Linked DNA regions of Homo sapiens: region 1 is linked to region 2. The links are contacts of gene promoters, found by promoter capture Hi-C in blood cells and fetal thymus (Javierre and others, 2016). All regions are on one chromosome and are shown on one strand. Each heading gives the region's core, a stretch centred on a gene start or on the middle of the fragment in contact. The rest is flanking DNA. Distances are from core to core; before and after follow the strand shown. Region 1 holds the start of LYRM4 (LYR motif containing 4). Region 2 holds the start of NUP153 (nucleoporin 153).

Region 1 (5,842 bases), core at 1,884-4,383, about 12 Mb before region 2:
CTGGTGCCAAGAAGGTTGGGGATAGCTGTGATATAGCACTGGGCAAAGCATGCTTCAGAGATGTTTTGTAGAAGCACTGAGGTAAAAGAATGACACACAGCAATGAGACCTGTTTGGCTGGTGGGAGGGATGGGAGTGGAAGCTGTGGGATGAAGAGAGTTGGGAAAACTTTTGTTCAGAGAAGGTGACAATTGAGCTCAATCTTGAAGGAAGAGGGGGCACTCTAGACAGGAGTGATAAAGGGCCTGCTGGATAGAACAGTACTTGTAAAGGCCTGGAGGCCCAACAGGACGTGGCACATTTAGGAAACTGCAACTGATGATGACAGAGGACAGGATGCACATGTGGGACTTAGGCTGAGACTGGAGGAGCAGACAGGGCTCCTGCTATCAAAACGTGGCCTATATTATAGGTCTTGCAAGAGAGTTCCAAAGTATTTATTTCACTACTCTAATTACTTAAGGCACAATTCGCAGGTCATTAAAAAACGTTTACTAGTCTGCTTTTGATTGCTTATTCAGCACTACCTGTGTTAGTTTTGATAGGTAACTTAAGCTCCCTGTGCCTCAGTTGCCTTACAGGGTAATACAAATAGTACCTACCTCACAAGATTATTGTCAAAACAAATGTGTTAATAGACATGAAGAACATAAGATAGCAGTGGCACACAGAATTGATAGTGGATGTTGTGTTGCTATTGATTTGCCATCAGTGACAAACAGCTGCAGAGATTAGAGAGGAGGGAAGGGACTTTTCCTGAAATTCACAAGACACAGCCTTAATGTAAAAGGACGTATTTTTATAACAAGTAAGTTTATCTAGGGAGGTAATAGCAGGAATGTCGGTTTTTAGGTCTATGATCTCAGGTAACAGTATAAAATGATTATCAGATTCCTTTGGATAATATATTTATATTTGGATAGTAAATTTAGCTTAAAAGTATATGCTTAAGGTATAATTTGATCAATTATTTTCTGAATGCATATGATCTTACAGTTGCCCATACTGAAACCCATTTTCAATTTTCTGCCTTTCAGGTAGAGTCTTGAATGATTTTCCTAAAGTTTGAATGATTTTCCTGTTGAGTTTCGTGAATGATTTTCCTGTTCAGTTGGCAATTACTCATTTGAAAACGCTTGGGCCTCATTTGCTCATAAATCATTTCCAAAGAGAATTTCAGAAATGGAAGGGTCCTTAGAGATTGTCTAGTCCAACAGTCTATTTCATAAACAAGAAAACTGAAATACAGAGATTGAGAGACTTGTCCAAGTTAGTCTTCGAGGGCTCCACCTTGACTTTCTTACATGCTCTCACATAAACCCTCTCCCTGCCACTTTCCTTAGTGTGTGAACTGCCTGCTGATTCCAAGTCCTTGTGTATCCTGAGTAAGCTTTAATGACAAACTATTTTACTCCAGACTATGGTGAAATCAAATGGTTTCTATTTATTTAACTTGCATATTTCATGTGTTTCCTCAACAGACTTGGTTAAGTACTTGGTGCTAGGTGTTTGGTTAATTCTTGCTAAAATTCCACCAGTATGCTTATTATTACACTCTTTATTCTCCAAAGTCAAAGTCATTAAGTAAAATCATTCTCTCCCGTGAAATTTAACCACTTAACTGGGTGGATACAACCTCAGTGGTATGACCCAGATGCTGTTTTCAAATTTGCAGCATGAGTATATTTTCCAGGCGGGTTTCTAAAAATTTGAGAGTCATTGCTTAAGAGGCTTAGCGTTCCTGTCCTCTGACAGAGGTTGTACTGGGCAGACCCATCTCAGGGCCTGCCAGCTCACACACGTGCTGGAGGGGGGCCTACCTAACCAGGTGTGTTCCAAGGGTAGGCTCTGCTCTTATGACATCCAATCCACAGTCTGGCCAGTCACCTAAGTGAGGCTTGAGGTAAAGAGATGAGTTGATCCAACCAGATTCTTTCTCATGGGAATATGGCTCAAACTCAGAGAGAGACAGGTAGTTAGTAAAAACAAAACAAAACAAAAAACAAATCTAAAAAAAAATGCAGAGAGAGAATCCATAAGAAAATGATGGGTCAGAACCAGCAACACTGTGAAAGCAGAGGCTCTGAATTAGAAAAAACATACAAAGAGTAACAATAAAAGACTCATAGGCAAATAGGGGAGTGGGGAGGCGTGAGAAAAAGTGAATGTGTTATATTAAAGATGTGAGTTTAGGCCCTCAATATCCTGCTGTCAAGGTCCAGTAAGCGGGATCTCTGTCTGGTGAGCCAGGAGAAACTGAGGTTTCAGCTCCAAAGCTTGTGAGACCCTTTTTCCTTTTCCGCTACGCATTTCCACCATACCCTAAATAGAATGGATTCTTGCAACCAAAAGAACTCATTACGACACCTAGGAAATTTTAGGGAGGTGCTAGAGTGTGCCTTCAGCTTTGTCGCAGTGTACTACTCACTGGCCACTTCCACTCTCAACTCTTCCAGTGCTCAAGGGAAGTTTTACATATGCAACACACTGGCCTTAACTTCACAAATGACTGATTTCCATCCCTTTTTTCTCTTCTGCAGAAACATAACACTAATCATGCTCCTAGAATAACTACCAAGATAGCCTTTAGGGGGAAAACGTCACAAGACATGAACGTCTCCCCTGGTAGAAAGAAAGGCTCCTCCCCGAGGTCTCAGAGGCCACACCTGTAGGCAGGAGCACGCTTTTCGATGGCGGAGCCCGGTCCTTGCCTCGCAGCCGCCGGCAAACCACGGTGGCTCCCAGTCCCCGGGGATATTCCGCGTCAGCCCGCACCCCCGGTCCCCGGCCCCTGGCCCCCCGCCCCCGGCCCCCGGTGCCCGCTGGGTCACCTGTAATTGTAGGCGCTGAAACGCTTGCTCTCTCTCAGCATCGCCCGGTACAGAGATAACACTTGTGCGCGACTGGAGGCTGCCATTTTGGAAAGAAAAAAAAATAAACGGGTCCTCTTCGCCGAGGTCCCAAGTACGACCCAACCCACGAAACTCCAGCCTGTGCGGAAACCACGAACGAAATAAAATGCTGCGGCTCGGCTTTGCCAGCGGGCCGGGCCTAAGCCTAAGCGGGCAGCCCTGCGGATCGCGGACGGCGCCAGGCGTCCCGCGCCGCTTCGGGGGCGGGCGCAGGCAGGGCTCGGGGCAGCTAAGGGGGCGGTGCTGGGAGGGAGATGCCTCCGCCCCGCCCCGATCCCGCCCCCGCCCGGAGGCTCGGGACCCAGCAGCCGCTCCACGCGGCGGGAGGGCGGGGAAATAAGAGGACTGGCCGCCCGTGCATCCAGCCAAGCTCCTGGCGGACGGATATCGGAGGCCCAGGCATTCGAGGGACGTGCAGTTGCATCACGGAGAGCCTTTGGGAACCGTCTGGGGTCTTGGCGGAGACATTTGTGTTTCGGGGGCAGCGCCCCTTCCTACATCCAGGAGGCCGCGTTGCCCGGGTTACCGAAGGCCGCCGCACCGACGCCCCGCCCCTGACCGCCGATGCCCCTCCCACGCCGGCTGCGGTCGCCCTCGGCGCTGCCTGAGAGAGTTTGCGGGATTTCAAGGGTGACTTGATTTCGCCTGATCCTGGTCGGCAGGGTGGGGTTTCTTGGCATTCCTCAGGCCGGGGGATGCGACGTCTGGGTGTGGAGGTGATGAGCTAGGGGTTCTGTGGCACTCCGGCTCTGCTCAGGGCGACCTGCGTAGGGGCCTCTGGGGCAGGCCCGCTTTCTGTCAAAATGGCAGCGCCCAGCGTGCGCGGGTATCTCTGAAGTTGGGGTTTAAGATTCTTGCCCGTGAGAGCGAACGAGCCTGCCGTACTTCTGATTTTGAAACACCTGGGTCTGGGCTTCCCGGGCGAGCGGTGGGTGAGTGCCGGCCTCATTGCAGCCTGGGGTACGACGTGGGCGGTTGGTGTTGTAGGGGGTTTACATTGGCCGTGGATTTTTTCCTCTTTCCGGATGTGTTTTTGCTTTTGAGTGAAGAGTTCCCGTGGTTTTGTAACCTAATAAATGCATAAAATGCAGCTTGGGTTGTAGACTTTGGAGAATAATTAGAGACCTTTAGGGCTTTAGGCTTTCTCCAAGAAGCGGAGCAAGTTTTCAACCATGGCTTTCTTCAGAAGACTGCAGCTTTTTTGAATCATCTTATTAAAGTGGTGGATAAAGTTGCTTGTTCTGATCTTTGAGCATGGCACTGGACGCAGGAAGCTTCAGCCAGTCCTAGTTACTGTGTTTGCAAAGCACTTTTCTTGTTTTTGGAATCTTGCTTTATGTAATCAACCTTAGGAAGAACCACACCTTTCTGCACTCAAGCACAGCGAGAAGTACGTTATGCGTGAAAACAAAACAACTTTGCATTAAAATCCATCTTTCTCCGAACCACTTGGTCACGGTTGTGTTCTCATCTGCTTTAGTGTATTTGGTTTTGAAACGATATACCTGCTGTATGTCTAAACAACTTTATATTTTCAGGAACTTTTCTGTTTCCTTTTCTTTTTTTTGAGATGGAGTCTCGCTCTGTCGCCCAGGCTGGAGTGCAGTGGCGGGATCTCGGGCTCACTGCAACCTATGCCTCCCAGGTTCAAGCCATTCTCCTGCCTCAGCCTCCTGAGTGGCTGGGATTACAGGCGCGCGCTACCTCGCCCAGCTAATTTTTGTATTTTTAGTAGAGACAGGGTTTCACCATGTTGGTCAGGCTGGTCTCGAACTCCTGACCTCAGGCAATCCGCCCGCCTCGGCCTCCCAAAATGCTGGGATTACAGGTGTGAGTCATCACGCCCAGCCTCTATTTTCAGGAACTTTAAAGGCAGAAAAAACACTTCTCTGACCTTACCATTCTTTAGTGTACTTGCAACCTGGTGTCCTTGCATCCAGATATTCTTACTAATCCTGATGCAATGACATTTTTTAAAAGGCACTGAAGAGAAAATACTTTTATTAAGATATCTTTAAGTCTCCTCCCTGATTTCTTGAAAATCTCATGTCTGTTATTGTTTATTATTATTTTTTAAACAGGATAGCAAAACTTCTATTACTTCCTGGTTGGTCAGGTCATTGAGCAAATCTAGCCTCTGCTTTATTGAAAGGACTTTTTTGAGTTTTCCCTTTGCTATTTCTTAAAGGATCCAAGACCAAGGCAATTGCACATTGTTATAGAGTAAGATTCAGAGCTGATTTCTCTTGATACACTATTGTGTGCCAGTGATATGAAATGATATGCGGCACCTCAAAGCTACAACATTAATGCAAGTTACTGATAGAGAATGCTATCAGAGTGAAAAGGAAAAACTTGAAGATTATTTTGGCTTTTTTAAAAATAGCAAAGATTACATTATTTTATTATATTTTGCTTTTGAGAGTAAAGTTGGAATAATTACTATATACAATTGTTTCTACCTAATTATCAAGGAATTTAATCATTAACGTACATAATTAATGTATCTAAATTACTCAACTTTGTTGTAATCAAATAAAACTTTTCCAAATAAATATGTATAGTTTAAATAGTTTGGGTAGCTTAGTCCTCTGTTAGTACGAGCAATGGTTGCAGTTAGGAAAGTGATAGGCTTCCCAGTTAATTCTGAGCCAAGTCTTCATAAAAATACCTTATTATTTTATTTAAAATGGTTTACCAATGTGTTGGACATCATTGCCTGGAGAGGCTAAAAGAAAATAATCATTCCGTAGCTACATCTCACTTTTGCACATCTTCATTGCGGAGATGACTTAAAAAAAATAACTCGATTTGAGATTGTAAGTAGATTTGGGCCAGAAGCTGAAGAATGGACCTTACACATACGTCCTTTAATAGTCATTCTATTCTGGGTTGAAATTTTTCTTAGAGAGTATCTGTAAAACAGGAGG
Region 2 (6,733 bases), core at 4,090-6,589:
AGGAGGCGGAGGTTGCAGTGAGCCGAGGTCGCACCATTGCACTCCAGCCTGGGTGACAGAACAAGACTCCATCTCAAAAAAAAAAAAAAAATACAAAAATTAGCTAGGCGTGGTGGCCTGCGCCTGTAATCCCAGCTACTCAAGAGCTGAGGCAGGAGAGCTGCTTGAACTCGGGAGGCAGAAGTTGCAGTGAGCCAAGATTGTGCCACTGCACTCCAGCCTGGGCAACAGAGCAAGACTCTGTCTCGGGGGGGGGGGGAAAAAAGCTAAATGCAGGAACTGACTTGTAAGACAAACTATATCTAGGAGGATTAAAGGCGGAGTCCCTTAGCTCTAAACCAGAAGATAAATGTCTGAAGCATACTACCCACACCACCCCACCCCACCCCCATCCCGGGACAAAAAGGGCAAAAATAAGTGGTTTCCTCTCACCAGGAGGTGGCAGTAGGTTCTGGTTTGCCCATGGACTCAAGTTTTTTGTAGTGGTTACTAAGAAAAGCAAGCAGCCTGACCTCTCCAAAGAGCTGACTTTCTGTGCCTGACAATCTGAACAAAAAGGAAATGGAAAAGGAAGACAGGAACTAACCACATTCTCTTCAGTTACCTATTCACTCTCAACTAGAAAAATGACACCATTTCTGGCCGGGCGAGGTAGCTCATGCCTGTAATACCAGCACTTTGGGAGGCCGAGGCGGGTGGATCACAAGGTCAGGAGATCGAGAACATCCTGGCTAACACGGTGAAACCCCGTCTCTGCTAAAAATACAAAAAATTAGCCGGACGTGGTGGCAAGGCACCTGTAGTCCCAGCTACTCGGGAGGCTGAGGCAGAAGAATGGCGTGAACCCGGGAGGCAGAGCTTGCAGTGAGCAGAGATCGTGCCACTGCACTCCAGCCTGGGTGACAGAGCGAGACTCTGTCTCAAAAACAAAACAAAAAAAATCAGCCGTTTGTGGTGGCGCATGCCTGTAATGCCAGCTACTCGGGAGGCTGAGGCAGGAGAATAGCTTGAACCCAGGAGGCAGAGGTTGCACTGAGCCGAGATTGCACCATTGCACTCCAGCCTGGGCAACAGATGCAAAACTCCGTCTCAAAAAAAGAAAGGAGAAAAGAAAAATGACACCATTTCCTAAATGCATCTAGGCAAAAAGGTAAAGGGGTAGGGGAGAAGGCAAGTAAGAATGATCAGCTTGCATTATTCAGGGCTGTTCTTCATATTTGCTTCTACAATTCTTAAGAGTTATTACCCTTATAACTCTTCAGTTATTTGAGCAAGACAATGAATTTGTCTGCACAACTTCATGCAAGATGACATTTTAAAGATCAGAATTTGGGCCGGGCGCGGTGGCTCACGCCTGTAATACCAGCACTTTTGGGAGGCTGTGGCGGGTGGATCACCTGAGGTCAGGAGTTTGAGACCAGCCTGACCAACATGGCGAAATCCCGTCTCTAAAAATACAAAAATTAGCCGGGCGTGGTGGCGCATGCCTGTAATCCCAACTACTTGGGAGGCTGAGGCAAGAGAATGGAATGAACCCAGGAGGCAAAGGTTGCAGTGAGCCAAGATCGAGCCACTGCACTCCAGCCTGGGCCACAGAACGAGACTCCATCTCAAAAAAAAAAAAAAAAATTAAAAAAAAAATAAGTTAAAGAAGGAAAGTAGTAAACTTACAGCATTTCCCAGGAGAGCTAAACCCAGAAGTCAAAACAGGAAATTACAAGTCAAATGAACACATGCAGAAGTCATAGGTACTGGGTGACTGTACTAGCCAAGTTGCCCTGACAGGCACTGGCAAACATCCATTAACTAACAGCGCCAGACCTCTCATTGTTTCTTACTCCAACTTTCTGCTATACTACCAAAAGCTTAATTTTTGCCCAGAAACCCTTGGACACTTAATCAAATAACATTAGTATAAAACATGCCATGTCATGAAGCTTGCTTCATGATGACTCAGCAGCTTCTGCAAAACATCCAGTTGACAGCCTAGGATAATAAACAGCAAGTGGGTAGACCCTATGTCCACCAAAGCCTCAATAAGGACTAAAGAAAGTCCTTATTTTTAAGATTAAAAAAAAAAAAAAGGAGAGTATTCTTTTGAATATACCTGAATACTTTCCTTGGGTAGTGGTAGTTTCTGCCAATATTAAATAGCACCTACAGTGTTGATCAAGAAACCCCTAAATACCTTTACTTCCCAATTCAAAAGCTAAAATATGTTTTCTTTTTTAATTAAATAGGACAAGAAGCAAAAGTATTTTAGATAAGGGGCAATGATAAATTATCAAGATTTAAAACAAAACTACACAGCCTGAAGTCGTATCAACTCTAAGACACCTTGGATCATAGGTGTTATGCTGTTAAGACATCATCTCCCCAAAATTAGATTTTTATTTTATCTAAGTACATTTAAGCTGTGATCAGGGGCCGGGCGCGGTGGCTCACGCCTGTAATCCCAGCACTTCGGGAGGCCGAAGCGGGGAGATCACGAGGTCAGGAGATCGAGATCGTCCTGGCTAACATGGTGAAACCCCGTCTCTACTAAAAATACAAAAAATTAGCTGGGCGTGGTGGCGGGCGCCTGTAGTTCCAGCTACTCTGGAGGCTGAGGCAGGAGAATGGCATTAACCCGGGAGGCGGAGCTTGCAGTGAGCCAAGATCGCGCCACTGCACTCCAGCCTGGGTGACAGAGCGAGACTCCGTCTCAAAAAAAAAAAAAAAAGCTGTGATAACTTCAGACATCTGGAAAATATTAATTCCCTTCTAACCTCTATTCAGACCATCCAATGACCTATATTTAAAACAAGTCATTTTTCTACATGTCATACAAGAAAATCTAAGCACTCAAAGGCATTCATAGGAGAAAAGAAAGCATGCATGTGTAACTTCCATTCTACAGACGGATTAGGTTAAATGGCCAGGCTTGTGACCTGAATTCTAATCTTAAATCTGCTCGCAAATACCCCTTTTCTTCACAAATTTGAAAACTAAGCACTTTATGTACATATCTGGGGGAAAACTGGTGGGAGTAGTAACAGTGCCAAACCTAACCATCAGTAGAGAACGACTGAAAATACCTGAACCACAATTTTTACTACTCAAACATTTCCCTCAAAATAAAAAACATTTAAGAAAACTAGAAGACAAAAAAAAAAAAATTCCTCAAATCTTTACTTTTTTTTTTTTTCTTCGAGACAAGAGTCTCGCTCTGTCGCCCAGGCTGGAGTGCAGGGGCAAGATCTCTGCTCACGGCAAGCTCCGCCTCCCGGGTTCAAGCCATTCTCCTGCCTCAGCCTCCCAAGTAGCTGGGACTACAGGCGCCTGCCACCACGCCCGGCTAATTTTTTGTATTTGTTAGTAGGGACGGGGTTTCACCGTCTCTGGATGGTCTGGATCTCCTGACCTCGGTGATCCACCCGCCTCGGCCTCCCAAAGTGCTGGGATTACAGGCGTGAGCCAACGCGCCCGACCCAAATCTTTACTTTTAAAAATCTGTTGATAATGACACAATTTAACAACATCAACCATGTGAAAGTGTGTAATCTTTATTAGCATCCAGAATAAAGTAATCTAGGAAGTCTACCTTTAACAGTAGGCAACAAGTTATCAGATCCTTTTGCTACACTTTTGTTTTTCAACAAATTTAAGACACACACTTCCCACCTCAGTATCACTGATAAGTGGCTTTATTAAAATAAGTTAACATTTTCCTATTCAATACTTCTAACAATCAATATTTTAAAAATGGAATTTTCTCAGAATCAACTATCTCATTTACAATTAGGATAATCCTTTTTTATAATTTTAAACATCCAGGAGTTCATACAGTGGCTAAACTATAAGACCACCAACATTCCTGGAGTGTCAAAAGTAACTATACTTCTAGAATACGCCTCATAATATTAAAATATTTTGTGTATGAGATCAGAGCTGGAGTCCCGGTCAACTGTGGAGAATGGCCAATTCCAGCCTCCAAAATAAAGGCGGGGGTGGCGGTGTTGGGGGGGGGGAGGGGAGTCGCGCAGCAGAGAAAAGACGTAAGGGTGGAGAGGGACTTTCAAAATGCCCCAGTGCCACGGTTAACTATAACCTGGTTAATAAAATCTAAGCCAATGCTCTCAAGACGAGGAGGGCCACAGGCAGGGGAAACCGAGAATTAACTCATAGGCTGAGACTAAGTTATTCCACTTTCCATGTAACAGCGCCCCCCACAACTCCCCGTCTGCCCCAGAGTTAAGATTCCAAGGGGCAGCCCCCCCTCCTCAAACACACTAAAGAAGGGACACCAGAAAACAGCAAGTATAAGGGCCATCAACCACATCTTTTCCTTTCTCCCTCGAGAGAACATGAGTAATACCCTCAAATTCCAAATCCCCGCCAAAAAATAAAGAAACGCGCGCATCATGGGCCTACAATTTCTTTTCCCGCCCAGAGCCTGCCTGGGAAAGCCCCTGACCCAGAGAGTTGGGGGAAAGGCGGCCCAAACCACACGTGTGCGCCGCAAGGCTGGGCCTGTCTCAGCCCACTTCCCGTCGCCACCCCCAACGGCCTGAGCTCCCCCGGAGCCTCACTCGGGCCTTTCCTCAGGCCCTCCTGTCTGCTCCACGTGGGGCGCCGGGGCCTCGAACCGCCCGTCCCCTCCAGCCGAGTTTCCCCACCCGCCAGGCCACCGCGGCGTCGGGGTCCCATACCTGATGCTGTTGTCGCCCCTGCTGGTAAGGCTTAATTGGCCCCTGGTGGCAACGCCGCGTCCGGATCTTGCCGCCACCGCCCCCTCCGACTCCTCCGGCTCCCGAGGCCATGGCGGAGCCTCCGCCGCTTCCCGCTCCGGGGCGGGTAAGGGGGCGGGAGAGGCAGAGGCGGAGGCCTTAGAGAGCCTCCCCCGCCGCCCGGCCCCGGCCCAAAAGTCCGCCCGCGCTGTCCACACAGTGGGCACAAGCACCCCAGGAACCGCGAGGTTGCGAGCAGGAGCGGAGAGAGGGTGAGTGCTGGCAGCGGGGAAGGGGGTGGCGGCCGCAGAGGCCGAGGAGGCTCCGGTCCGGCCGCCTCTGCGGACCCCCGCCTCTGTGTGTGTCACGGTCTCTATGGAGATCTCCCGCAGAGGACAGCACGAACAGTTCCCCGCGGTGCTGAGGCCTAACTCGACCGCCGACTGGTGGGAGTTCTTCCGTCGCCCTAGCCGTAGCTGCCGCAGTTGAAGCCGCTGGCGACGCCCGCCTACCCCTCCCCTGTGCGCACAGCGCCCGCCCCGCCGCCGTCGTCGTCGTCGTCCCTGCAGCCTCCGCCGCCGTTGCGCCTATTACCCCTGCTAAGGCGGCTGCCGCGGTCGCGAGCCAGAATGTCGTCACTCATCGGCGCCCGACGCATTTGCATCATCATGCTGCGACGAGCTGATAGGCAAAGAGGAAGGGCTGGTCGAGTCCACGCTCTCGGCCGCGCGGCACGCTGGGAAACGTAGTTCAACAACGGAACGCGGCTTCTCGGAAAGGAAGAGGGACGGGGAAGGAGATCTCCGGGGCGCCGCAGAGGCACAAAGCCAAGGGGTACTTTTGCTGTTCTTGGCTGTAAATTAGACTTTGAAAAGACACTTAACATAAAAACAGTAACCTCTTCCCATTCTCCTTCTCCCTGTCGGTTGGTTAAGTAGGCAGGAAGTAAGCAGACAGTAAAATCAAAGACAAGAGCTAATGATTTAAGAAGGAGGAAAAAAAAATCTGTGGTTGAAAAATAAAGTCCATGATCCTTAGAATTAGAAAATATATACGGCTTCATTAATGTTTCTTTAAACATATAAAGGTTTTGTTGCAGACACACGGGGCTGGAATTCTGGTTCTGCCACCCAACCTATTTGACCTTGGATGAATCAAAACCGTCTGAGCCTTAGCTTCCTCCTCCATAAAATGGGAGCTTTAAAATCCACCTTATAAAGCTGTTGTGAGGAGCAGACGTGATCATCTATGGAGAGCATGTATATTTGCTAATAGACGAAAAATGCGATGAATGATTACAATTATAACCCATGCAGTCAGCTAACATTAGGGGTAAGTGATATATCCTTAACAATAAAAGTATACTATATTTGCTCCAAATATTTAGGAAACTGAGTAAGTGAGCTAGACTCAAAGACTGAATCCACAAAATGTATATTCTAGGAGTTGACGATTAGAAAGGTCCTGGTGATCACATAGTCCAACCCTCTCATTCAACCAACCAGACAAGATGTCCAGAGAAATTTAGGTGGCACAATCAATGACACTGAGATGGGTAATCAAAGCCAGGACTATAACCCAACTTTTCTGTAAGAGCTAAAGACAAATAGCCAAATGATTAGGGAGGAAAAATATGTTGTGAAAAATCTTAGACTTACTATAAATCTTTTTTTTTCTTTCTTTCTTTCTTTCTTTTTTTCTGAGAGACAGAGTCTTGCCCTGTCGCCCAGGCTGGAGTGCAGTGGCGCGATCTTGGCTCACTGCACCCTTTGCCTCCCAGGTTCAAGCTATTCTCCTGCCTCGGCTTCCTAAGTAGCTGGGACTACAGGCGTGCACCACCACGCCCAGCTGATTTGTGTATTTTTAGTAGAGATGGGGTTTCGCCATGTTGGCCAGGCTGGCCTTGAACTCCTGACCTCAAGTGATCCACCCGCCTTGGCCTCCCAAAGTGCTGGGATTACCCGTGTGAGCCGCCACGCCCAGCCTATTTACTATAAATCTCCCACTTACTAGCTGTGTAGCCT

The links. The method cuts DNA at HindIII sites, captures the fragments that hold promoters and counts their contacts. A CHiCAGO score of 5 or more calls a contact.
Region 1: a contact is called between the fragment with the promoter of LYRM4 here and the fragment with the promoter of NUP153 in region 2, in 1 of 17 cell types (total CD4 T cells). The highest score is 7.3, in total CD4 T cells.

What each region holds. Positions count from the first base shown.
Region 1 is chr6:5,257,817-5,263,658 of GRCh38, forward strand. It overlaps LYRM4 (LYR motif containing 4), which reads right to left and starts at 3,134. Exons shown (of 3, transcript NM_020408.6): 1 at 2,832-3,134. The coding sequence starts at 2,917. It overlaps FARS2 (phenylalanyl-tRNA synthetase 2, mitochondrial), which reads left to right and starts at 3,697. Exons shown (of 7, transcript NM_006567.5): 1 at 3,697-3,844. RefSeq lists an enhancer at 2,365-2,414 and silencers at 2,625-2,934, 2,995-3,214. The HindIII fragment of the contact is 1,910 bases long and covers 2,275-4,184 here.
Region 2 is chr6:17,701,586-17,708,318 of GRCh38, forward strand. It overlaps NUP153 (nucleoporin 153), which reads right to left and starts at 5,340. Exons shown (of 22, transcript NM_005124.4): 1 at 4,692-5,340. The coding sequence starts at 4,802. It overlaps NUP153-AS1 (NUP153 antisense RNA 1), which reads left to right and starts at 5,458. Exons shown (of 3, transcript NR_134618.1): 1 at 5,458-5,543; 2 at 5,809-6,041. RefSeq lists enhancers at 171-290, 4,758-5,452, 5,262-5,531 and silencers at 2,485-2,654, 3,171-3,330, 4,662-5,171. The HindIII fragment of the contact is 5,135 bases long and covers 1,936-6,733 here.